Linked DNA regions of Homo sapiens: all the other regions are linked to region 2. The links are contacts of gene promoters, found by promoter capture Hi-C in human tissues and cell types (Jung and others, 2019). All regions are on one chromosome and are shown on one strand. The core of a region is centred on a gene start or on the middle of the fragment in contact, and the rest is flanking DNA. Distances in the headings are between cores, read along the strand shown. Region 1 overlaps ANKRD11 (ankyrin repeat domain containing 11). Region 2 holds the start of RPL13 (ribosomal protein L13). Region 3 holds the start of CDH15 (cadherin 15). Region 4 holds the start of ACSF3 (acyl-CoA synthetase family member 3).

What was found. The method cuts DNA at HindIII sites, captures the fragments that hold promoters and counts their contacts. A contact is called where the count stands out against the background at its distance.
Region 1: a contact is called between a fragment that was not itself captured here and the fragment with the promoter of RPL13 in region 2, in 13 of the 25 tissues and cell types used here (IMR-90 fibroblasts, adrenal gland, dorsolateral prefrontal cortex and 10 more).
Region 3: a contact is called between the fragment with the promoter of CDH15 here and the fragment with the promoter of RPL13 in region 2, in 1 of the 25 tissues and cell types used here (liver).
Region 4: a contact is called between the fragment with the promoter of ACSF3 here and the fragment with the promoter of RPL13 in region 2, in 1 of the 25 tissues and cell types used here (spleen).

Annotation. Positions count from the first base shown.
Region 1 is chr16:89,288,669-89,293,761 of GRCh38, reverse strand. ANKRD11 (ankyrin repeat domain containing 11) reads left to right here. Exons shown (of 13, transcript NM_013275.6): 5 at 2,579-2,749; 6 at 2,934-3,137; 7 at 5,092-5,093. Among named protein-coding and RNA genes, the nearest start is that of ZNF778, 74 kb to the right of the region's middle. RefSeq lists enhancers at 1-59, 1,753-2,599. The HindIII fragment of the contact is 4,448 bases long and covers 1,620-5,093 here.
Region 2 is chr16:89,556,970-89,561,931 of GRCh38, reverse strand. RPL13 (ribosomal protein L13) reads right to left here and starts at 1,250. Exons shown (of 6, transcript NM_000977.4): 1 at 1,220-1,250; 2 at 869-992; 3 at 564-705; 4 at 181-354. The coding sequence starts at 972. It overlaps SNORD68 (small nucleolar RNA, C/D box 68), which reads right to left and starts at 502; the gene lies at 431-502. It overlaps SPG7 (SPG7 matrix AAA peptidase subunit, paraplegin), which reads right to left. Exons shown (of 17, transcript NM_003119.4): 17 at 4,166-4,962. The coding sequence ends at 4,839. RefSeq lists silencers at 668-717, 778-1,047, 2,589-2,808 and an enhancer at 1,158-1,267. The HindIII fragment of the contact is 11,945 bases long and covers 1-4,962 here.
Region 3 is chr16:89,167,440-89,173,102 of GRCh38, reverse strand. It overlaps CDH15 (cadherin 15), which reads right to left and starts at 1,355. Exons shown (of 14, transcript NM_004933.3): 1 at 1,230-1,355. The coding sequence starts at 1,271. It overlaps LINC02138 (long intergenic non-protein coding RNA 2138), which reads right to left. Exons shown (of 3, transcript NR_046200.1): 3 at 3,956-4,994. RefSeq lists a silencer at 1,280-1,919 and enhancers at 4,636-5,483, 5,484-5,663. The HindIII fragment of the contact is 6,474 bases long and covers 1-3,438 here.
Region 4 is chr16:89,090,850-89,096,749 of GRCh38, reverse strand. ACSF3 (acyl-CoA synthetase family member 3) reads right to left here and starts at 2,898. Exons shown (of 11, transcript NM_001243279.3): 1 at 2,754-2,898. RefSeq lists enhancers at 726-895, 2,115-2,304 and a silencer at 2,725-3,134. The HindIII fragment of the contact is 24,302 bases long and covers 1-5,900 here.

The DNA of each region.
Region 1 (5,093 bases), core at 2,594-5,093, 270 kb after region 2:
CCCAACACCGCCCCAGCTCCTCCCTCCGCAGCCCCACCTCTGCCCCAGCTCCTCCCTCCGCAGCCCCAACTCTGCCCCAGCTCCTCCCTCTGCAGCCCCAATACCACCCCGCCTCCTCCCCTCCGCAGCCCCAACACCGCCCCAGCTCCTCCCTCCGCAGCCCCAACTCTGCCCCAGCTCCTCCCTCCGCAGCCCCAATACCGCCCCAGCTCCTCCCTCCGCAGCCCCAACACCACCCCGCCTCCTCGCTCTGCAGCCCCAACTCTGCCCCAGCTCCTCCCTCCGCAGCCACAACTCTGCCCCAGCTCCTCCCTCCGCAACCCCAACTCTGCCCCAGCTCCTCCCTCCGCAACCCCAACTCTGCCCCAGCTCCTCCCTGTGTCCACCCCTAGTGGCCACATGCAGCACAGAAGTGGGGCCCACTCGCTTTTCACTTCTGATGGTCAATGGAATAAGGAGATGCCGTCTGCTCCCAGGAGTCTCCTGTGCTGTGTGCAGCTTTGCAAAGTCTGTGTATCTCGGGGATTCTGCTTTCCTCGTGTTCTCAGGGGGCTTCGTGTCTCCAAAACATTAACCCCCCTGCTCTGGGTGACGGAGGGAGCAGGCCTCTGAATGTGCGTGGCTAGGTCTTGGGGATCAGGGCCCTGCAGAGGTTCTCAGCTGCTTCTCCAGGCGACTGTGGGCAGACCAGCTGCTCGGTGAGTGTGGGCCCCTCCTGGAGAGAGGAGGACTTGAGGGCTATCGGTGGGGGAGCTGGGGTTTCTCCAGCAGCTTCGTCGCCTCTTTCCTAGAGGGAGGCAGCCGCAGGCCTGCTTCTGTTGTTTAGAGGTGGCTATGAGAAGCAAGCCTGGGGAGGGCCGGCCCCCGGGCAGCATGGAGGGTGCAGGGAAAGCATGGGGCGCACGCAGAGACCCACAGCCAAGCGCCTGTGACCCAAGCTCACTGCTAAGGTGTGGCTACGCCAATGATGGCTGTAGGCTGGGGCTCATTGGCCGGTGGCGAGGCTGCCTCCCCAACCACCGTGTTTGCCAGGTTCTATGAGGGGCTGGGGCCAAAGCTCAAGTGCTTTCTCAGATCTGTGCGTTGAGGACTGTTTACAGACTAGCTGGTGGTGGCGATGGCAGCCTGCAGTACTTGGGGTTTTGCCCATGAGTGTGACGCAGGTCGATGTGGCCAGGTGTGTGCCTTCCTGCAGGCTTGTCCCATAGGACATACGAATCCACATTCTCAGCATGCCCCAGACCGAATTCCTAAGAAATCAGCCTCAGATACCTTGGAAAGAACTAGAGTGGGTGGGCAGCGTCCTCTTAGGAAATCGACGGGCACATTCACGGGGACCATGGTGGTGAACAGCAAGAGAGTCGGGCCCTGGGAGCTGAGCTGAGAGACTAGTTAAGACCGTTCTGTGTTCCAGTGACCGGGCAGGTGTGGGATCCAGTTAGTCCGTTGTTAGAGATGTCTCCCACCTCTGTAGGATCAAACACCAGCCGAGGGAGAAGTCCTGAAGAGAGGCTTCTTGGGAGTGCTGAATGGAAGGGAAGGGAGGTGCCTCAGAGGAGAGCTTCAGAGGCCCACGTCTTCCTGGTGGCCCTTCTTCCCCGAGTCAGGCCTTGGCAGAGCCTTGCCTCTGCGCTGCACCTCTGCAGTTTCACCCCATGACCTAGAAAACCCCAGAACCCGCAGGGCAGCTGGAGGAGGATTCAGAGGTGTCTGGCCCCTGATTTCCATCCACAGGAGGGCACTGGTCAGGCAGAGGAGGAGGCATCTTCTGTGCCCCCGACTCTTGGTGCTTGGGGTCTTCTCTTCCCCGCCCCTGCCTCCTGCCTCTTTTAAAAGACACAGCACGTGAGTTGCGTTAGACGCCAGCCGAGTGTTCTGTAACGGGTCAGATGAGTGCAGGGTGTGCTTGTTACGAGGAGGCTGAGGTGGAAACAGCCGAGCTCTCACACCGTGTCTTGTTAGTGCTCTGTGTTGATGCCTTCAGATGCCTCCAGCCCAGTCCCTGTTGTGGTGCTGCAAGGCTGGTACGCTCCTCGAAGCACCATGGCATGAGATGGAGGTTCCTAGAAGCAAGAAGAAAGGTACAGTACTGACCAGTTGGCCTTGATTTACTGATGTGTTTTAAACTGTGTCTGCCATTTTATATCTGCACTGTTTGGAGGAGGGACGGGGAAGGTGGAATTGAATTACAGACACGTGTATTGAACAGAGACCTGTCCTGTGTGAGCCAGGTCACCGGTGCTAAGCTGTCCCACCGCATTCATGTGTGGTACGAGGTCTGGGGAGGCCCAGGAGAGGTGCCTGGAGTGAGTGGATGCTCGGTGGAGGCCCAGGCTTAGCAGACTTGAGGGGCTGGTAACGAGGTGTTTAAATGGTCTCACAGTCACTGCTGAGAGGTGAGGTGGGCGGCACCAATGCTCCCAGCACCGCTGTGCTTTCCCCATACACAGACCTTCCTTTCTGCTCTGTCAGCTGTCAGGTGGACGCAGGGGGCTCCGTAACATTAGGTAAGGACCTAGCTTTGGAGGACACCATGGCATGAAATCTCTCCTCCCTCTCTCCCTCGCCCGCCTCACAGAGAAGCAGGGCCCTGAGCGGAAGAGGATTAAGAAGGAGCCTGTCACCCGGAAGGCCGGGCTGCTGTTTGGCATGGGGCTGTCTGGAATCCGAGCCGGCTACCCCCTCTCCGAGCGCCAGCAGGTGGCCCTTCTCATGCAGATGACGGCCGAGGAGTCTGCCAACAGCCCAGGTGAGCCCGGCCTGTGGGTGGTCCCTGGCGCAGGGAAGGGGCTCTGCCTGGTCGCAGCCTCATGGCTGTGCTGAGGACAAGCCCTGTGCAAAGGGACCTCGTGATGGTGGCCTGGGCTCTTGAAGATTGGACAAAGCAGGACCACCCCACAGTAATGCCCATCTGTCCCCTCCTTGGCCTGCAGTGGACACAACACCAAAGCACCCCTCCCAGTCTACAGTGTGTCAGAAGGGAACGCCCAACTCTGCCTCAAAAACCAAAGATAAAGTGAACAAGAGAAACGAGCGTGGAGAGACCCGCCTGCACCGAGCCGCCATCCGCGGGGACGCCCGGCGCATCAAAGAGCTCATCAGCGAGGGGGCAGACGTCAACGTCAAGGACTTCGCAGGTGGGCACCCTGTGCCTGGCAAGGGCCAGAGAGCCCCACTGGAGCCCTGAGCCTCCCCCAGTGGAGTCCTGAGCCTCCCCCCATTGGAGCCCTGAGCCTCCCCCCATTGGAGCCCTGAGCCTCCCCCCATTGGAGCCCTGAGCCTCCCCCGCTGGAGCCCTGAGCCTCACCCCATTGGAGCCCTGAGCCTCCCCCCATTGGAGCCCTGAGCCTCCCCCAATTGGAGCCCTGAGCCTCCCCCGCTGGAGCCCTGAGCCTCCCCCCATTGGAGCCCTGAGCCTCCCCCGCTGGAGCCCTGAGCCTCCCCCCATTGGAGCCCTGAGCCTCCCCCGGCTGGAGCCCTGAGCCTACCCCCATTGGAGCCCTGAGCCTACCCCCCGCTGGAGCCCTGAGCCTCCCCCATTGGAGCCGTGAGCCTCCCATCGGGTTGGATGGGCTGTGGCCTCGTGGGGTGCGCGTCTGCTCTGCAGGGCTCGGGGTGTTCACAGCCACACTCACTCCAGTGGGGTTCCCTGTTGCTGAGAAGAAATCAGTGTTTCTTGGAAAGTATTTCAAAGTAAACTTGTTTGCTGGGTTTTATTGTTATTTTTATTTTTAGATAGGGTCTCGCTCTGTTGCTCAGGCTGGAGTGCAGTGGCGTGATCACGACTCACTGAAGCTTTGAACTCCTGGGCTCAAGCGATGTTCCCAACTCAGCCTTCCGGGTGCAGGCGCACGCCACCATGCCTGGCTAATTTTTTTATTTTTTGTAGAGACGGGGTCTTACTAAGTTGCCCAGGCTGGTTTGAACTCATGGCCTCAAGCAGTCCTCACGCCTTGGCTTCCCAAAGTGCTGGGATTATAGCTGTGAGCCCCCATGCCTGGCCTATCTGTAAGAGAACTGAGGAATTTTAAATTTTACTCTGCTGTGTTCCATAAACCTCACTCCAGGCCCCTGGAGGGACCTGTCCCTGGTGTGTCTAGCACATGGCTGCATTCTCCAGCAGAGGGCACCTCTGAGCCGGGAGGCCGGCTGGGTCGACACCCTGGACTGGACTCCCTCACTTCACAGGGCTGGGTCCTGGGGCTTGCCTGGGACCCGGAGAGAACTGAGCGAGCCTCCCCAGACCTGATACGGCCCAGGGGCTTAAGAGCTCCATGATTAGAGTTTAATATTCCCTTTCTTTACATAAAATACCCCCATCAAACCATGAGTGGTCCACATATCCCAGGACTGTCTGTCCACAGTGTAAGGGGAACAGATGAGCAAAATCGTGTGTGTAGAATCCTTCTAGATTTCTCCAACTGCCCTGGTTTATAGCTGTCTGACCCAAACCTAATTTAGCACCTTTTTTTTTTAAAGCATTTTTCTAAAAGAAACTTCTCTAGAGCAGTGCCGTGTGCTTCCGTGGGGCCGAGCTCTGTTTCCACGGATGCGTGCGGCCACACCGTCCGATGGTGGACTCCAAGCTCCCCAGCCAGGAGCTGCCTGCCCGGGGTGGCCTTCGTCGTGCAGCCCGAGCCTGGGCGCCCCTGGAGCTCCTGCTGTAGCAGCTCTTCAGCCTTCAGGAGGCTCTCAGCCTTGGTTTCCGTTTCCGACACGGGAGGTTTCCCCTCCGTGTTTTGCAAAGGCACATACGCCTCCAGATCGGTGAGGATGAGGCTGCTGTTTACTACACTGTGTGTTCACTGATTTCCTACCCTTTTAGGGTGATTGCCGCAGATTAGCCCTGCAGGTTGTCAGTCCGTAGGGTTAATAAGCTAGATATGGATCGTGCTAACGAGGTGCCACAGTAAAGAGAATTTAGGGGTTCTCTGGGCCAGCACCTGCTTCCCTAAACTGCAGCCCTCACTACAGGGCAGCTCCCCACCTGGCTTGTCCCCGCACTGTAGCACATCCTCAGGGCGCTGCCTCCAGAGACAGGAGGGAAGTTCTGAGGATTAAATAACGTACGTCCTGAGTGTCTGTTTCCAGGC
Region 2 (4,962 bases), core at 1-2,500:
GTCCATTAAGGTTATCTCTGCGGAAACGCACAGGTGAACCTTAGCAGTCCCGCTTAGCTCATCACCCACAATGTTTTGGTTCTTCTCACCCCAGCAAGACCCAGGGACCGGTGTCACTGATAAAGGAGCCAAGCCTCACTGTCCCCGCGCACCAGGACGGCCAGAGAGCCGTGTACTCACAGAACTGTCTCCCTTCTTGGGGGCCGAGGGCTTCCTGGGGAAGAGGATGAGTTTGGAGCGGTACTCCTTCAGCCGCTGCACGTTGGCCTGCAGGGACTCCGTGGACTTGTTCCGCCTCCTCGGATCCACAGAAATGCCGATGGTCCGGGCCACCTTCTTGTGAATGCCGGCCACCTGCCCCAGAACCAGAGAGAGATGGAGACAGGCCCGGGCTTTCTCCAGCCCCGAGGCCTGGATGAAAAGCCTCAGCAATCAGATGGAAAAGGGTTCAAATGTGCTTTCATCAAGGCCGTACAGCGATTCCGGAGAATGTCATCACGCGACTGAGGCCAACAGAGGGGACTTCGGGGCCTTCCTGACACCGCAGCGCTGCCAGTACTCACCCTGAGCTCCTCCAGGCTGAAGCCGCGGCCGGCGCGCACCTTCGTGTGGTACCGAACCGTGGGGCAGCGCACGATGGGCCGGATGGGACCCGACGCGGGGCGCGGGGCGATGCGGCGCGCCTTGGCTTGCCGGGCCTTACGTCTGGTGGAGAGAAGCGCAGCGGCGGTCACCCTTGCCTAAGGCCGCCAGGCCAGCGCTCCGCGACGGTTGCAGACAGCGCCCCCCGCCCTGGCATCGGCCACCCGCAAGCCAAGGCGCAGCCGCGGGCACGAGCCCCAGGGGCAGCCCCGAGCGCAGGGCTCACCTGCGGATCTTACGGGCCGGCTGGTTGAACCACGTGGCCACGCGCCGCTGCCAGTCCTTGTGGAAGTGGGGCTTCAAGACCATGCCATTCCGGCTGGGCGCCATGGCTGCCTACGGCCCTGCGGCTGCGGACGAGAGGGGAGCGAGTGAGAGGCCGGACCCCGGGCGCGCGCACCCCCCCGGGCCTCCGCCCCGAACCCTCCAGACTGGGCCGTCCGGCCGCGCCTAGAGCCCGGGCAGCGGCCGAACGCTGTCTGCGAAGAAGAAGGGGCCCATCCACTCCCGCGTTGGCTGAAGCGCCAGGCCGATGGCGCTGGATGATGCCCAAAGGCCAGGACCCAGTCTCCCTCACCTCCTGCGCAGGAAAACAGCCGAGCGGAAAGGAAGCGGCCCCGCAATGCACTCTGGGATGATAGCAGGGCCGGCCAACCAGAAGCGCCGGGCGCTCTGACCAATCAGAGCCCCGAAAGGAGGAACTGACGTCGCCGCGGCTCTCCCGGCAGCCCTAGGGCCGCCGTCGCAGACATGTTGCCGCTGAGAATGCGGCGGGGCGGCCGTGATTCCTGGGCCCTGAGTAACCGACGGCCGGACTTGCTTGACGTCCGCCGTTACTGCCCCGGCGCTTCAGCCGCTGCGCGGGCCGCGGCCGAGTCCTGTCTTGCGGGCTAACGCGCGCGAGTCCGGTATCTGGGCCGACGGCGAACGGGCGACGCCCGAGGAATTCTGTTTGTTCACATTTGTGAGACACGTTTGCAGCGCAAAGGCAGAAAAACTTCAGTGACATCCGAGTTTGCGCAACCTAAGGCCTTCGTCCTTGTCGTTCCAGCGTTTATTCTCCTCCCATCCATTTAGAACATTTGTGGTTTTTTTTTTTGTTTTTTTTTTTTGGAGACGGAGTCTCGCTCCGTCGCCCAGGCTGGAGTGCAATGGCGCGATCTCGGCTCACTGCAGCCTCCGCGTCCCAGGTTCAAGCAATTCTGCCTCAGCCTCCCGAGTAGCTGGGATTACAGGCGCCCGCCGCCACACCCTGCTAATTTTTGGTATTTTAGTAGACGGAGTTACTGTTGGCCTCTGTCGCTTTCCCTTGGCCCAGGATTAGGTGACTTCTCTAAGGTCAGGGGTACCCGACTGAAAATGTCACACTCTGACCTGCTGTGCCTACTGCCTTCCTTCACAAAGAAAAGCATCAACAAAAAGCCATCTCTTCTCTAGTATAAGTCTGTGAAGGCACCATCCATCTTACTGCTACCTGGAAACCTTTAAATCCCAATAACCCTCTTTCTTCCCTACCCTCACCCAATCACCACGCTTCCTCCTGGTAAAACTTATTATTATTTTTTTTTTTTGAGACGGAGTCTCCCTCTGTTGCCCAGGCTGGAGTTCAGTGGTGCGATCTCTGTTCACTGCAAGTTCTGCCTCCCGGGTTCACGCCATTCTCCTGCCTCTGCCTCCCAAGTAGCTGGGACTACAGGCGCCCACCATCACGCCCAGCTGATTTTTTGTATTTTTAGTACAGACGGGGTTTCACTGTGTTAGCCAGGATGGTCTCGATCTCCTGACCTCGCGATCCGCCCGCCTGGGCCTCCCAAAGTGCTGGGATTACAGGCGTGAGCCACCGTGCCTGGCCAACGTAATCCACATTTTAAGAATTTCACAGTTCCAGCACTTTGGGAGGCTGAGGTGGGCGGATCAGCCGAGGTCAAGAGTTTGAGATCACCCTGGCTAAGATGGTGAAACCCTGTCTCTACTAAAAATACAAAAAAGCTGGGCGTGGTGGCGCATGCCTGTAATCCTAGCTACTTAGGAGGCTGAGTCACCAGAATTGCTTGAACTGGGGAGGCAGAGGTTGCAGTGAGCCAAGATCACATTACTGCACTCTAGCCTGGGCAACAGAGCAAGACTCAGTCTCAAAAAGAAAAAAAAGTATTTCACAGGCCAGGCACGGTGGCTCATGCCTGTAAATCCCAGCACTTTGGGAGGCCGAGGCGGGTGGATCACCTGAGGTCAGGAGTTGGAGACCGGCCTAGCCAACATGGCAAAATCCCGCCTCTACTAAAAATACAAAAATTAGCCATGTGTGGTTGTGTACACCTGTAATCCTAGCTACTCCAGAGAGTAGGACAGGGGAATCACTTGAACCCAGGAGGCAGAGGTTACAGTGAGTCGAGACTGCACCACTGCACTCCAGCCTGGGTGACAGAGTTAAGCCTCCGTCTCAAAAATGAAAAATTTAAGAGCTGGGCGTGCTGGCTCACACCTGTAATCCCAGCATTTTGGGAGCCCAAGGCAGGCAGATCACGAGGTCAGGAGATCGAGACCATCCTGGCTAACATGGTGAAACCCCGACTCTACTAAAAATACAAAAAATTAGCCGGGCGTGGTGGCAGGCGCCTGTGGTCCCACCTACTTGGGAGGCTGAGGCAGGAGAATGGCGTGAACCCGGGAGGCGGAGGTTGCACTGACCCAAGATCGTGCCACTGCACTCCAGCCTGGACTACAGAGCAAGATTCCATCTCCAAAAACAAATAATAATTAAAAAATAATAAATTAATTTCACAAAAGGCTTGGCACAGTGGCTCACACCTGTAATCCCAACACATTGGGAGGCCAAGGCAGGAGGATCACTTGAACTCAGAAATTCGAGTCTAGCCCTGTCTCTACAAAAAGTACAAAAATTAGTCGGGCATAATGGTGCGTGCCTGCGGTCCCAGCTACTTGGGAGGCTGAGTCAGGAGGATTGCTTGAGCCCAGAAGATCGAGGCTGCAGTGAGCCGAGATGGCGCCACTGCACTCTAGCCTGGGCGACAGAGCAAGACTCTGCCAAAAACCAACACAACAGCAAAAAAAAAACAATTACCGAGGACACTACCCTTGGCTACACCAGCTAAAACCCTCCCATCGATGTGCTGGTCTTTGGATTTGGAGAACTGGGGCAAAGGTCAAGGCATCTCTCAGAGATGCCACCCTCGGGTGTGTGACTGCACCTGTGGCTGCCTCCTTACTGCTCCGCCAGCGTTTCAGTGTTGCAGCAACAAGAGGACAATCCACTCACGTCACTGCACCACAGGGAGGGCAGAAGCAAGGGGGCCGGAGTGGGAGCCGCATGCCCCGGAACTCAGGGCCAGGGTGTCCTGGGTCGTCTTCTATCCCTACGGGGTCCAGGCCCCAGATTCCTACAGAAGGAGTTTTTCACTTAGTCCCTGCATTACTCAAATTATAAACTGAAACCACAAGACCCTGTGATCCAGGGCAAGCCCACCAGCTCCTCTGCATTAGAGCTGGCCAGACAATGCAAATGTAGATTTTCCAACTACACAGTTTATTAGTAAAGTATCTCAACAATTCTCAGAGCAGTAAAAACCAAGGCATCCCCAACACTGCATGCGTGACTAGACCAGCAAGAAGTCCTCAACTTGCACCAGTCCACATGGCAGCAGGGGGCAGTGGTGAGTCCTCCGGAGCCCAGTGCCTGGGCCTGACTGGCCCCATTGATGAGTGAGCTGGATGACAGGGCCGCTGGAGATAGGACAATCGGCTCACAGGGTCCTTTCATGTCCGATCCCCTTAGCATTCCGAGGGAGCCACAGGAACTGGGGCGGTCGTGCAAGCGTCGGCATGAACAGGGGTCTGTTTGGAGTCTGAATGCTCTGCTGCCTCTGGGTGGCCTCAGCCACACTGGGAACGACTGTCTATAACCCTGGGAACTCGAAGTGTTCCATGCTCACTCGGGAAGCACTGATAACCTTCCCCATAGGGGAAACGACTCACAAACACAGGACTCCGTCAGTAGTTTCTGCAGAGAAACTTAAAATCATGAAAAGGGTCATCAATCAACAGATCTCAGAAGTCACTGTGCAGGGACTACTGAGGGCCGCGAGAGGAAGTGCAAACCTCAGCTGAAAAGCAACTCAGGGTGGCTGAGTGAGCCCTCACTTCCCGGACCACCCGCACGTGCAGCCAACACCTCCCAACTACTTGGGCCAAGTCGGCTCTTCGCCTCCAAGTGGAGGCTGCTGGGTCTCTTCGGTCTCCTCCTCGCCCAAGTCCTGTTTCTCCCTCTGGGCGTCGATCCACCTCTGCGGTGCGATCATTTTC
Region 3 (5,663 bases), core at 106-2,605, 390 kb after region 2:
TGGCAGGAGCCGTGGTGCCCTCAGGGGCAGCTGCTGGAGGGTCTGGCTGGCCAGGCGCCTGGTCAGCTGCCAGGGGCTGAAATTGGAGCCAGCTGGAGCTGGGAGGCCTGTGGGAATGAGGGGACTCAGGAAGCCCCTTCAGTGGGGGCTGGGAAAGGAGTGGCTTCCCTTACTCACTGTGTCCAGCACTCCCTGACCACCCCAGGACCACAAGAGCAATGAATACTGTGAGCACCGCTAAGCCCTTTATGTGCATTCTCTCTCGAATTGGCCAGAGAGAGGCTGCCCTCTTGTACCCAGTGACGTCCCAACCACAGCCGGCCATGCCCCAGCCCAGCCCAGTCCCTGGGGGCTGAAGCCACTGAGGCCACATCCTCCATGTCTAGGTCCCCCTAGGGTGTGAGGAGACGTGGCTCCAGCTAGGCAGTACCCATGTCGGGTGTGGGGGGCTGAGGCCTGGGCTTCCTTCCACTCTGGCTTGCTCCCACGTTGGAGAGACCACGGTGCCAGCAGTCCAGACAAGATTTTTAGGGGCAGAGTCCAGCAGCCTCTGGGGGCTGGGCCCCCAGGCCTGATCACCCCAGGCAGCTGCGGCAGGGTCCCAGGTGAAGCCCAGGAACAGAGCCCCCAGGGCTGCCACACGCCACTCTGCAAGGCCGTGTGTTGCGACCTGGCTCGGGCTGGGCCCTCCCAATCGAGAAGTAGCCGTGAGGGTGAGTTCCTGGGGGCAGGGCCTGCAGCCACCCCTGCTGGCCAGGAACTTGGGGTGGGGGGTTTGGACAAAACCCAAGACTAGCCAGGGGTCCTGTGCCCACCGCAGGGAGTCCCTATAGAAACCTGGCCCCCAGCCCCCCAGAGAGGGGCACTCCTGCCGCTCCCCCCTCTCTCTGCTCCACTCAAGACTGGCAACCCCCAGACCCCGGCAGCGGTTCCTCCAAAGAGAGGGCACGGCTACCTGGGTGGCCCCTGCCTGGGGTCCCTGACCCCAGCAGCACTCTGCAGTCCTGGGGGTGATTCCACCAGATGGAGTGTTTGGTTACACTCACTCCCCACAACCCCTGGGGTGCTGCCCCCAGCCCAGGGACCCACCCGGAGCCACTCCGCTCACAGGCCCCCAAAGGCGACCAGGGCCAGTGGTTCTGGGGGAGACCTGTGCGGCTGCAGTTGAAGACACTGTCCCGCAGCGTCGAGGGAGGCAGCGGGGACCCCCGCAGGTGCCGATGCCTTACCTGGGCCAACAGCCCGAGGACGAGGAGGAACGCGGCGTCCATCGGGGCCGAGGCGGGAGCCGGGCCGGAGTGCACCCGCGACCCGAAGAAGCGCGTCCAGGCTGAGTGACAGCGCAAGTGCGCGGGGCGGGCCAGGGCCAGAGACAGAGACAGCACGTGTGAGGGGGGCGGGGAGGGGGCGGGGCAAGGGCTGAGTGACAGCACGAAGGAGGCCTCTGACGGGCCGAGGGCCGGCCTGGGCAGGGCTAAGGCTGAGTGACAGCGTGTTGGCAGGCGGGTGGGGCGGAGCCTCTGGCGAGCTAGGGCGGGGCGCAGGCTGAGTGATAGCCCGTGTGCGAGTGGGGCAGGCGGGGCGGGGCCGGGGCCGAGGGCTGAGTGACAGCGCAGGTGCGCCGGCGGGGCGGTGACCGCACGAGGCTGGTGGGGCGGAGCCAGAGGAGGATGGGGCGGGCGGGGCGGGGCCGAGGGCTGAGTGACACCTTGTGAGAGTGCGGGGTGGGGCCGGGGTGGGGCCGGGGCGGGGCCGAGGGCTGAGTGATAGCTTTTGCGGGGTTCCGGCGGGCAGGGCCAGGGCTAGGTCGGAGATACCCCGGCTTGCTGCGTTGGGAGCAGAGCCAGAGGCCAGGCTGTGGGGAAGGCAGGGTGGGTGCGTCCGGGTCAGGGACCAGCTGGGATTCCTGGCTTCTTCATTTCCTGCTCCTTGGGCCCGGCTCGCCCCTGCTCCAGGGAATCTGCATTGTAGTCCCTGCCGGGGGACACCTCTTGAGCACTTCCTTGGGCCCCTCGCCTCTCTGGCTGCGTCTCCTGCGCCTCCCCGCATCCCACTGAACGCTAGGCCCGCCTTCCACGCACCTCCTCGCGACCTCATTTTGCCCAGCTCTTATTCAGTATGGAACTGCTCTGGTTCACACGCCTCTGATACCAGCGTGGCTCGTAGGACACCCCCAATTCCCCCAGTCCACGCACCTCCTCCAGCATCCCCTTGTTCCCCGAGGCCCCCTGCCTGGAGCACCTTCCTTCCTACAGAACTCCTTCTCATCATCCCTCAACACCCAAGGTCAACGCTGCCGCCTCCTGGAGCCTCCTTGCCACCTCGGCCAGAAGCCCTCCCTCCTGTTGACTGTGGCACCTGTTCTCCCCTTCGAGACCCCGCCCCCTGGGATGGTGTGGGTGTGGCTCAACACCTGCACAGGCCCAGCGCACGGTCAGGAAGGTCCTGGAGAGGGGGTGGAGGGGGCTGGAGGCAGGAGGATCCTTTCTTTTGAGCAGGCAGGGTGGGGAGTGGGGGTTGCCGACCAGCCCAGGGCCGGGCCGGGGAGCCCGTTCCTCTCTGTGATGGGAGCAGACCCGGTACCTCTGCTCTCCTGTCGACGGCGGGTGGCTGTGCAGGTGCAGGCAGCATCTGTGCACTTGGCCTGCTTGAAAGGAGGCCAGGCTGCCCGGGAGGCTCAGGCCAGGACTGTCCCTAGCGCTCACTGCTCCAAGATGAGAGAGGGCAGGGAGTCCATCTCCAGACTGGGAGGCCTCTGGGGCTGGGGTGTAGCCTGTTGGGGACCACCATCCTGCCTCTGTGGTCAGTGACCTCAAAATAGGGGTGGAGAAGCCCTCTGAGTGCTTTTGGTTTTCATCCTCACGGGACTAGTGCAGGGGTGAGGTAGAAGTGCTCGCCCTCCCCCCAGAAAGAGGTCTGGGGAGGCTGCGGTCTGCCAACCCCAGCTCCTCTCCGCTTCCACCCTGCACCCACCTCGCTTCAGCCACCTGCCTCCCACCCACCTCGGGGAGAAACGGAGGCCAAATCCCTCCTCCATGGGATGTGGGGGTCTCTAAGGGAAAGGCTAAGCTGGGCCAGGTCCTGGGTGAGCCCCAAATGCAGGGCGGGGCCAGGGAAGCAGCCGGCTTAACCACTGCGGGAGGGTGTGCTCCCTGGCTGGCGGGCTATCCCCCAGGGGCAGGTGCCCCCGCGAGGGACCCCGCTCCACATGCTCCCAGGGCAGCAGGAAGGTCAGGAGGCAGGAGCCTGGGTCCAGTCCCAGCTCGGAGCCTTGGGCTGGAGGTTCTCCCCCGTGCCTCAGTTTCTCCTTGTGTCAGAGGTAGGTGGCAGGGAAGGGCTGGGTACCCTGAGTCTGGAGGTCCTGTGCAGTGGGGGCAGGGGTACATTTTCGGCTGCAGGACCATCAGCCCTAGAAGAGCCCTTCCCTTTCCTGGTGGACCTGGAGACGCCGGACCCTCCCTCAGCACCCCAAGCCTCCAGCTAGGACCCCACTCTGGGCCTTCTCCTCCTTTTTCCAGAGTCTGCAGTCCTGAGCCTTTGGGACTCACCCCCATCACTCCTGCCCTCTGCCTTGCCCACCTCAACTCTCCACCTCGGGGGACGCACCTCATGGGCATGAGGTGGGGGTGGGCCGGCCAAGATGTAGAGGGGGCTCCCTGGTCCACAGCCTCAGTTCCCATCCTATTTCCTCTCCCCAGTATGAGGAACGGGGGGACAACAAACAGGGTCCCGGACCCCCCAGGAGCCTTGCAGTCTTGGATGTCCCAGAGGTCCCCCCACCCCCAGCCCTTGGCCACTCCTCCCAACACCGCAGGCAGTGGTCGAGGCTGGGCTAAGGAATTTCCAACTTTCTCACGATAGATGCAGGCGGGTGCCGGTTTTCAGCTGAGATGCCATGGTGTCTGCTCTGGAGTGATTCTGTAATTGCACAGTGCAGTAACGGCACTTGACCCTTGATTATTAAATTGTATTTATGTAATTACAGTGTATAAATATACATGCACACCCCAACCACTAAGGGGCAGGCGTGATGCGGAACGCTGCGGTTGAGCAAGGTGGGCTGGACAGGGGCCCTGTGGAGGCCCAGGGCTTAGGCCAGTCACAGCCCCGTTACCGAAGAGGCAGTGGGGGCTGGAGGGCAGGGGTTAGCAGCTGTGAAGGCGGCTCCTACCCAGGGTGTGGGGCGTGGAGGGCAGAAGGGTGACGTCCAGGGAGTTTGGGTGACACCCGACACCAAGGGAGGGGACCCCGGGGTGAGGAGGCCCTGGTCTTGGTCTGGGGGCTGTGTCCATTCCAGACCTGACCTGAGGCTGGGGTGCCTGTGGCAGGGGCTCTGGGGGCTTGCTCTGCAGGTACCAACTGCTCCCTGAGGAGCCCCTGGGCAAGTGCCCCTGTCTGACAGGCAGGGCCTGAGGCTGGAGGAGGCCGGGGTGAGGAGACAAACACAGGTGGGCCCTGGCCGGGAGCCTGGCGTCGGCCATGGGCCATGCCCTTCCAACATTCTACTCTGGCCGGGAGGCCGCCAGGGCGCTGGGGTGAGGCCGACACCCAGTCCTGGGGCCGTCAGAGCACAGACCAGCCCATCTAGGCAGATGAAGGTCCCCACGGAGTGAGTGAGGGGTGGGGAGTGGATCCAGAAGGGCTGGGGCCACCAGCCCCCACGGCCCCTGAGCCCTGGCCTGAGTGCATGTGGCTGGCTCTGGGTAGTGGGCCCTGCAGAGGGACTTCCGCCCATAAGTTTCCCGTAAGTTTCCCCGGGACAGAGGAGACGCAGCTGGATCTCGGGGTGTGGAGGAAGCCAGGCAGTGTCTGTAGCTGGGGCCATCCTGGACCCTGCTGTGCTCCGGCTCTCTGGGCTCAGGGGTGACACTGCCCCCACATTCAGGCAGGCCACCAGCTGCCCCTGGCGGCCACAGGGGGTCAGTCCAGGTGGGCTCAGAGGAGCCCCATCAGGTATGGGGGTGCCGTTTTTGTTCAGAAGCCCCTGACCCCCCCTGCAACACACATGAAAAGAATATTCGAGAAGTCTGTTTAAAACATCTTGGGCATTCAAAACACACGGACAGACAGACAGACAGACAGACGGACATGTTAGACAGGAGGGGCTGCTGGTGGGGGCGGGGTGGTGCTGGCCCTCCTGAGGACCTGGGGACAGCAGGTCCCTGGAGCCTGACGGTCAGTCCTGGCTCTACGGGGAGTTGGGCACAGAGGGGTCAGGGGGTGGCGGGCCTGTCTGGGGCTCCCTCAGGCCTGTCCCTGACCTGGGGAAGTGGGGTCCTGTCCTGCCCAGCCAGCCTGACACTGGTTTTGCGTCCCATCTCCCCACAGTGACAGAGGAGCCAACCAGGCACTGGCTCAAGGTGCAGCCGTAAGAGCTCGGGTGGGCTCAGGACTGGCGGGCTCAGGGCTGGCGGGGTCAGGGCTGGTGGCCTGGTGGCCCATCACACCCGCCAGCCCCGGCAGGGGGCAGTGTGGCTCCAGGGATGCCAGTGGAGGCGGGTGGGGGAAGGGCAGCGGGCTCCTCCGATTGCTGGAGGGTGTTCAGGGCAGAGCTGGGAGGGGACGATGGGCTCTTCCCTGCTTCCGTCTCCATGCTGGACATGCCTGCCCCCTCCAGGCCGGCCCAGCACTGTCACCAAGCGTGGACGCCTTGACTTCCTGCC
Region 4 (5,900 bases), core at 1,649-4,148, 470 kb after region 2:
GAGTCGGCCGAGGGAAGGGGGGAGTCCTGGCACCTACAGCTGTGTTCACTCGGGGTGTCTAGGGCACAGATGCCGGGAAGTCACATTGCTGGGTCATCTTTAATTTTGAGAAATACTGACAAAGTCCCCTCCAACGAGGTGCTGATTTATTCTCCCACCAAGCATGTGGAAAACGGAACCAGCCCCATCAAACCAGCTTTTCAGTCCCTCAGGCTTGGGACAATGAAGTGCCCAGTCATCAGTTCTCTTCAGCACAGAGGTTGAATCTTCACGGTCATCGGATCAGAGCCCTGCCTCGAACACGCAGACAGAGCCTACTCAGGGCAGATGGCTGTGCGCGGTCTTCCTGCACACCTCCCGGTCCAGAGGCACCCCAGCTTCCTCAGAGAGAACCTCACCTTTCAACCACTGGGACCCCTTCTACCGTGGGGCTCCCCATCACCACCAGGAGCACAGTGTGGAGGGACACTGCCCACCAGACAAATGCAGTTCAGTCAGGGGCTTCCACCCTCAGCCAGCTTCATACCCCTGCTACGCAGCACCCTGATAACCCGAGGTCAGCGGCGTCACCACGTGGCTGGGCAAGGACTCTAGTCAGAAGCTGAGAAAGGTGCCTGAGCCAGGACAGCCTCCTTGGTGAAGGCGTACTGGAACCACTGAAAACAGTGGCTCTCCAGCCCTCGGGGAGGGAGGCAGGACCTCTCGGTGTTCTAGCCATCAGGTTCTGAGATCAGACCACTAAGGCACTGGGGCTTCTCGGGAACACACATGCAGCGCAGCGGGATGCATCTTTTCCCTCCTAACTGGAGTGCTGGTTAATGGCAGAGTTAGTCACCACAGGCTTCGACTTGAACGGCTGCTGCCTTTGTCCTCATTTCCTCACTGGCCTAGCCCTTCACTTCCCACCGCTAAGATGGCACAGTAACAAGACCTGCCTCACAGGCTTCACGTGAGAATGTACGAATGGCCCGGCACAGGCCAGGCAGAAGACAAACGGCCGCGCCGTGCTCAGCAGGGTGCTCCCCATGGAGCCTCGCAACAAAAATTACTAGATGAGAATGACACTCGCATTCAAATGAAGGGCTGCTTTCAACATGAATAAAACGACACCTGACCTGTTCACCACCACACCTGACACCCCCGCCCCCCCAGACCTTGTGTTTGAAGTGGATGCCGGCACTTCCTCCTGTCGGCTGCCCCGATGAGAGCGTGGGGCAGAGGAGGGCTGTGCTCGGCCTGCGGGGCAGGATGCGTTTCAGCATCACACCTGTGGTTTGGAGGGTTATTTTCAAAATTACATTTTTAAGTAACAGACATTCACATTGCATTCATGAGCAGTACATTCAAATAAAAAAAACCAAAAAGGAAAAATACACTTGAAACCCATATCCATTTTAGGAAGAAAAATACTATTTTAAAAATGCCATCTGGAAAGGTGACACTTACAACTATCCCAAGCCCACAGTTTAATCCGCCATTTCTGTCTGCCTTGAGGAGATGGTTCAGAGCCAAAGGAGCAAGAGCAAGGGAAGCCTCATCTTATGTCCTCCAACACCTGCGGAGAGGACACCAGCCTGAGCCAGGCTTCACGCTACAAAGCTCGCAGGGTCCCCAGGGTCCACCGGTAGTAACACCCGTGCTCCTGGGTCCACCATGTGAACCCCCTCCTCAACAAGGTCTCAGCCTTGGGCCCTAACACGAATGTCTGTCCTCCCAGGATGGGAAAGCAACAACTATGCCCCAGACACAATTCGTGTTCCTATCTCTAAACGTGTTCCCTTTCTAGCAAATTCCTAATCATTCTTCCAAGCCCAGTTCAAATATCACCTCTTCTTTTTCAGTTTTATTATTTATTGAGACAGTGTCTTGCTCTGCCACCTAGGCTGGAGTGCAATGGTGCTGTCATGGCTCACTGCAGCCTCCGATTCCTGGGCTCAAGAAATCCTCGTGCCTCAGCCTAACCAGTAGCTGGAAGTGCAGGTGTACGCCACCACACCCAGCTAATTTTTACATTTTTTTGTAGAGATAGGGGTCTCACCATGTTGCCCAGGCTGGCTTTGAACTCCTGGCCACAAGTGATCCTCCTGCCTCTGCTGCCCAAAGCGCTGGGATTACAGGCATGAGCCACTGCACCTGGCCTGCCTGGTGGAATTTAGACTCAGGACAGCAACATCAACTCCTGACTGCACCGGGCCTCACCCCTTTAAACCTTCCCTCTCTCCAGGGAATGGGCTGCCTGCAGTACCTTCCAAATACTTCACGGCCGGCCGCACGTCTCCATTGCTTGCTCATAGATCTACATGCCCTCAGGGGCTAGGCCGGCTGTGAACCTGTGCCCCACGCGCCCAGCAAGGTGCACGCAGCAAACAACTAAAACGGGGAGTACTTCAAGGGTGACTTCTGAAGCCCAATGAGAAATGGAAGTGAATTTATTCCAAACACAACCAAAGACGATTCGTTCTGAGGATGCCTGAACACGGACCCCGCCGGCTCGACGGTATCACCGGGCCCGGCGTCCGCACAGCTTCTCTCCCCGCACCCCGCGCGGGGGCCCCGCTCCCCACCGGACACGAGAGGCTCGGCGTCCCGGGAAGGCCGACGCCCGGCCCCAGGCGGCTCGCGGGGAAGCGACCGCGCCACGGGCCACGGCTCAAGCCCAGCTGCGACCCAGGGGCGGGCGCCGGAGCCCGCGCCCCCGAGAGCTCTGCGCCCGGCCGACCCCGCCGCGGTCCCGTGGGCCCCGCCGCCCGCACCTACGAGACGGCCGCGGCCACGGGGCAGGATCTGCCTCGCCACAACTCTTCCTCGTCCTCCGCCGCGCGCGCGCCGGGGTCGGGCCGGGTTCCGGCCGGGTCCCGCGGGGTCGTGAGTCGGGCCGGACCAGTTCCGGCGCCCAACAGCTTCCCCGGCGCGGCGCGTCCGTCGCCCAAGCGCGTCCCCCCGGCGCGGCGCCGTGGCGGCGGGTTCCGGGCGCGCGTGTTCCCCTGTCCCGCCCGTCCCGTCGTGGCGGGGTCGGGGCCGCGGGCGTCTCGTGAGCCGTGGCCGAGGCAAGGCGCCGTGGTCTCCGCTAGCCCAGGGCTGCCCAGATCAGAACGGCGCGCGGGACCACTCCCAACGCGGATTGCTGGGCCTCGCCCCGTCCTCCCAAAAGGGGCTCTCTGGGCTTTGCGGCTGGGGGTCTGCACGCTGAGCTCCTGGGTGATTTTATTATTATTATTATTGTTGTTACTTTTTCTTATTATTATTATTATTTTGAGATGGAGTCTCGCTCTGTCGCCCAGACTAGAGTGCAGTGGTGTGATCTCGGCTCACCGCAACCTCCGCCTCCCGGGTTCAAGTGATTCTCCTGCCTCAACCTCCCAATTAGCTGGGACTACAGGCGCCCGCCATCATGCCTGTCTAATTTTTGTATTTCTTGGGTGATTTTAAACGGACCGCATTTGAGAATCTCTCCTCGAAGGGACTTGGGAACCAGGATACGAATATGAAGCGAGACTGTTGGATGGACAGTGGCGGAAAACATTTAAAGCCAAACACAAAGTCCAGTTGGCTGAAATTTGAGGGTTTTTCCCCTAAAATGAATACTAATAACACAAAGACATGTACTGGCAAACAGTAGTACAAATTATCTGCAGAACCGTCCTGGTGTGATGGCTCACGCCTGTAATCCCAGCACTTTGGGAGGCCGAGGTAGGCAGATCACGAGGTCAGGAGTTCAAGACCAGCCTGACCAACATGGTGAAACCCTGTCTCTCCTAAAAATACAAAAATTAGCCGGGAGTGGTGGCAGGTGCCTGTAATCCCAGTTACTCGGGAGGCTGAGGCAGGAGAATCTCTTGAGCCTGGGAGGTGGCGACTGCAGTGAGCTGAGATTGCGCCACTGCACTCCAGCCTGGGCAGCAGAGTGAGACTGTCTCAAAAAAAAAAAAAAATTATCTGCAGAACCTTGCACAGTTTTTTTGTAAGTGTATTATTTTCCATGCCCATCTTCCTCTCTTGTGATGATTGCTGGGGCAGCAGTTGTGTCCTTGGAAAGCTCAGGAAAGGGCACTTCAGGAGCCCGAGGATGGTTTTCCTGGGAGGAAGGAGCTGGATCTGGGGGAAGTTTGTAACACAGAGCGTGGGAGAACAAACCCAAACTTCTAGTGCCTCTGGTTGCCACCCTGCTAGGTATCATGCAGAAAAAGCAAGTCCAACCCTCTGCCACTGGGACAGGCTTGATCTGGTGTCAGAATTCTGTCTGCTTCCAGGACTCAGCAGGCTGAATGGTGTTTCCGACGAGGGCAGTAGGAAGAGTAAGGAGGGCGTCTAACATCAGGATTCAGCCCCAGGACGTGTGTGCGCAAATTTCTATCCCTGGGAAGTTGAAGAGCTCAGGCTGCGTCACCCACCTAGAGACAGGACTTGGGACAGGGTGACAGCTCCCGTGGTCCTTGGCCATGGCTCTGTGAGGGTGGCAGTGGGGGGAGGGTGCAGTCTCCGAGAAATGGCCCAGTCATCCTATGAGCAGGGGTCCCATCTGTGCCTCGGCTCTGGTCAGCATCATAGTGGCAGGTGGGAAGCAGGAGCAGTCAGGGATTAGCAGACATTGGAGGACAGCCTCTAGCCAGAGAGACGTGGGCTGAAACAACCAGCAGAACAACTGCAGGCAGCCAGGCTGTGCAGAGTGAAGAGACCCCCAAAACCACCCCCTGTTAATACCCTCAGGGAGACAAGGGAAGCGACAGCCCCCATGAGTCCAGAGCGAGATGCCCCGAGAAAGAGCGTTCCAGTAACATAAAGGGGGGCTGGAGGGGTCAGAATACAACAGCCTGAGTAAAAACCCTAAGGGAAGGGCTAAAGGACGTCTCCTAGAAATAGAACAGAAAGACCGAGAGATGAAAAACAGGAGAGGAAAGATAAAAAAATCAGTGGGCTCAGGCAGGCATCCAATATGCTAAATACGGTAGTTTCAGGAAGGGAGGGCAGAGAAAACAGAGAGAAGTCAGCTGTCAGGTAAACTCGTGGACATTAGCAGACGAAGGGCTGCAGAACATCCAGCGCAGGGAGTGAAAGTGGCCGCACCAACCAGGCAGACGACGTCAATGTAGTTTAGAACATGTGGACAGGGAGGGTCCTAAGTGCCCACCTGGCATCTCACTGGGACATCCAAGAGACATCAGACCCCGATGTGGCCCCAGAGGAGCTCAGGTCTCCCCCGCAGCAGCGCCCCCACCCTCACACTTTGCATCTCACCCTCGATCCTGGGGTTCAGTCTATGGCTCCCTGCTTCCCTCCCACACCACATTGAGTCCTACTGGTTTCTCCTGCAAATTCTGTCAGAGACTGTCCCACCAGCGCTGCTGTAACCACCCAGACCAGGAAAGCCTTGTTTCCTAAAGGAGTCCTCACTGGATTCATGAAGAACCCAACAGTGGCTGGAGTAGCCCCATTAAAACCTGAGTGGGATCCTGCTCAGAACCCACAGGGGGTCCTGCCCAAGCCCTGTTGTGGCCACCAGGTCCCCGAGCCCCGCCCTCCTCCCCTCTGGCCTTGTTTCCTGTGACTCCCGGGAGTCCTGGCCTGGCAGGCAGGGGCAATCCCCCCGCGGGAAGATGGTGGACAGAGTGTCCTGTGTGTTTACCATGTTGAGAGGAGACTTGAACAATGCAAGCAAAGTTTAGGGATAGATGATCAATACATAGAAAACTAATCAAGAAAAATAAGGCAGAGATTAAACACTGGGAACACAGGAAGATGTGTTTGCCAGCAAAGGGCACGTGATCATGTTGCTGTAGGAGGCTCCGCTGTCCATAGCATTTACTAAACTACGATCATTTCAACATCTACAGTGTAACCATCAGCATGCAAAACTGCCGCTGATCGAACGAGTTTATCGCAGACGACGGGAGGGACCCGGG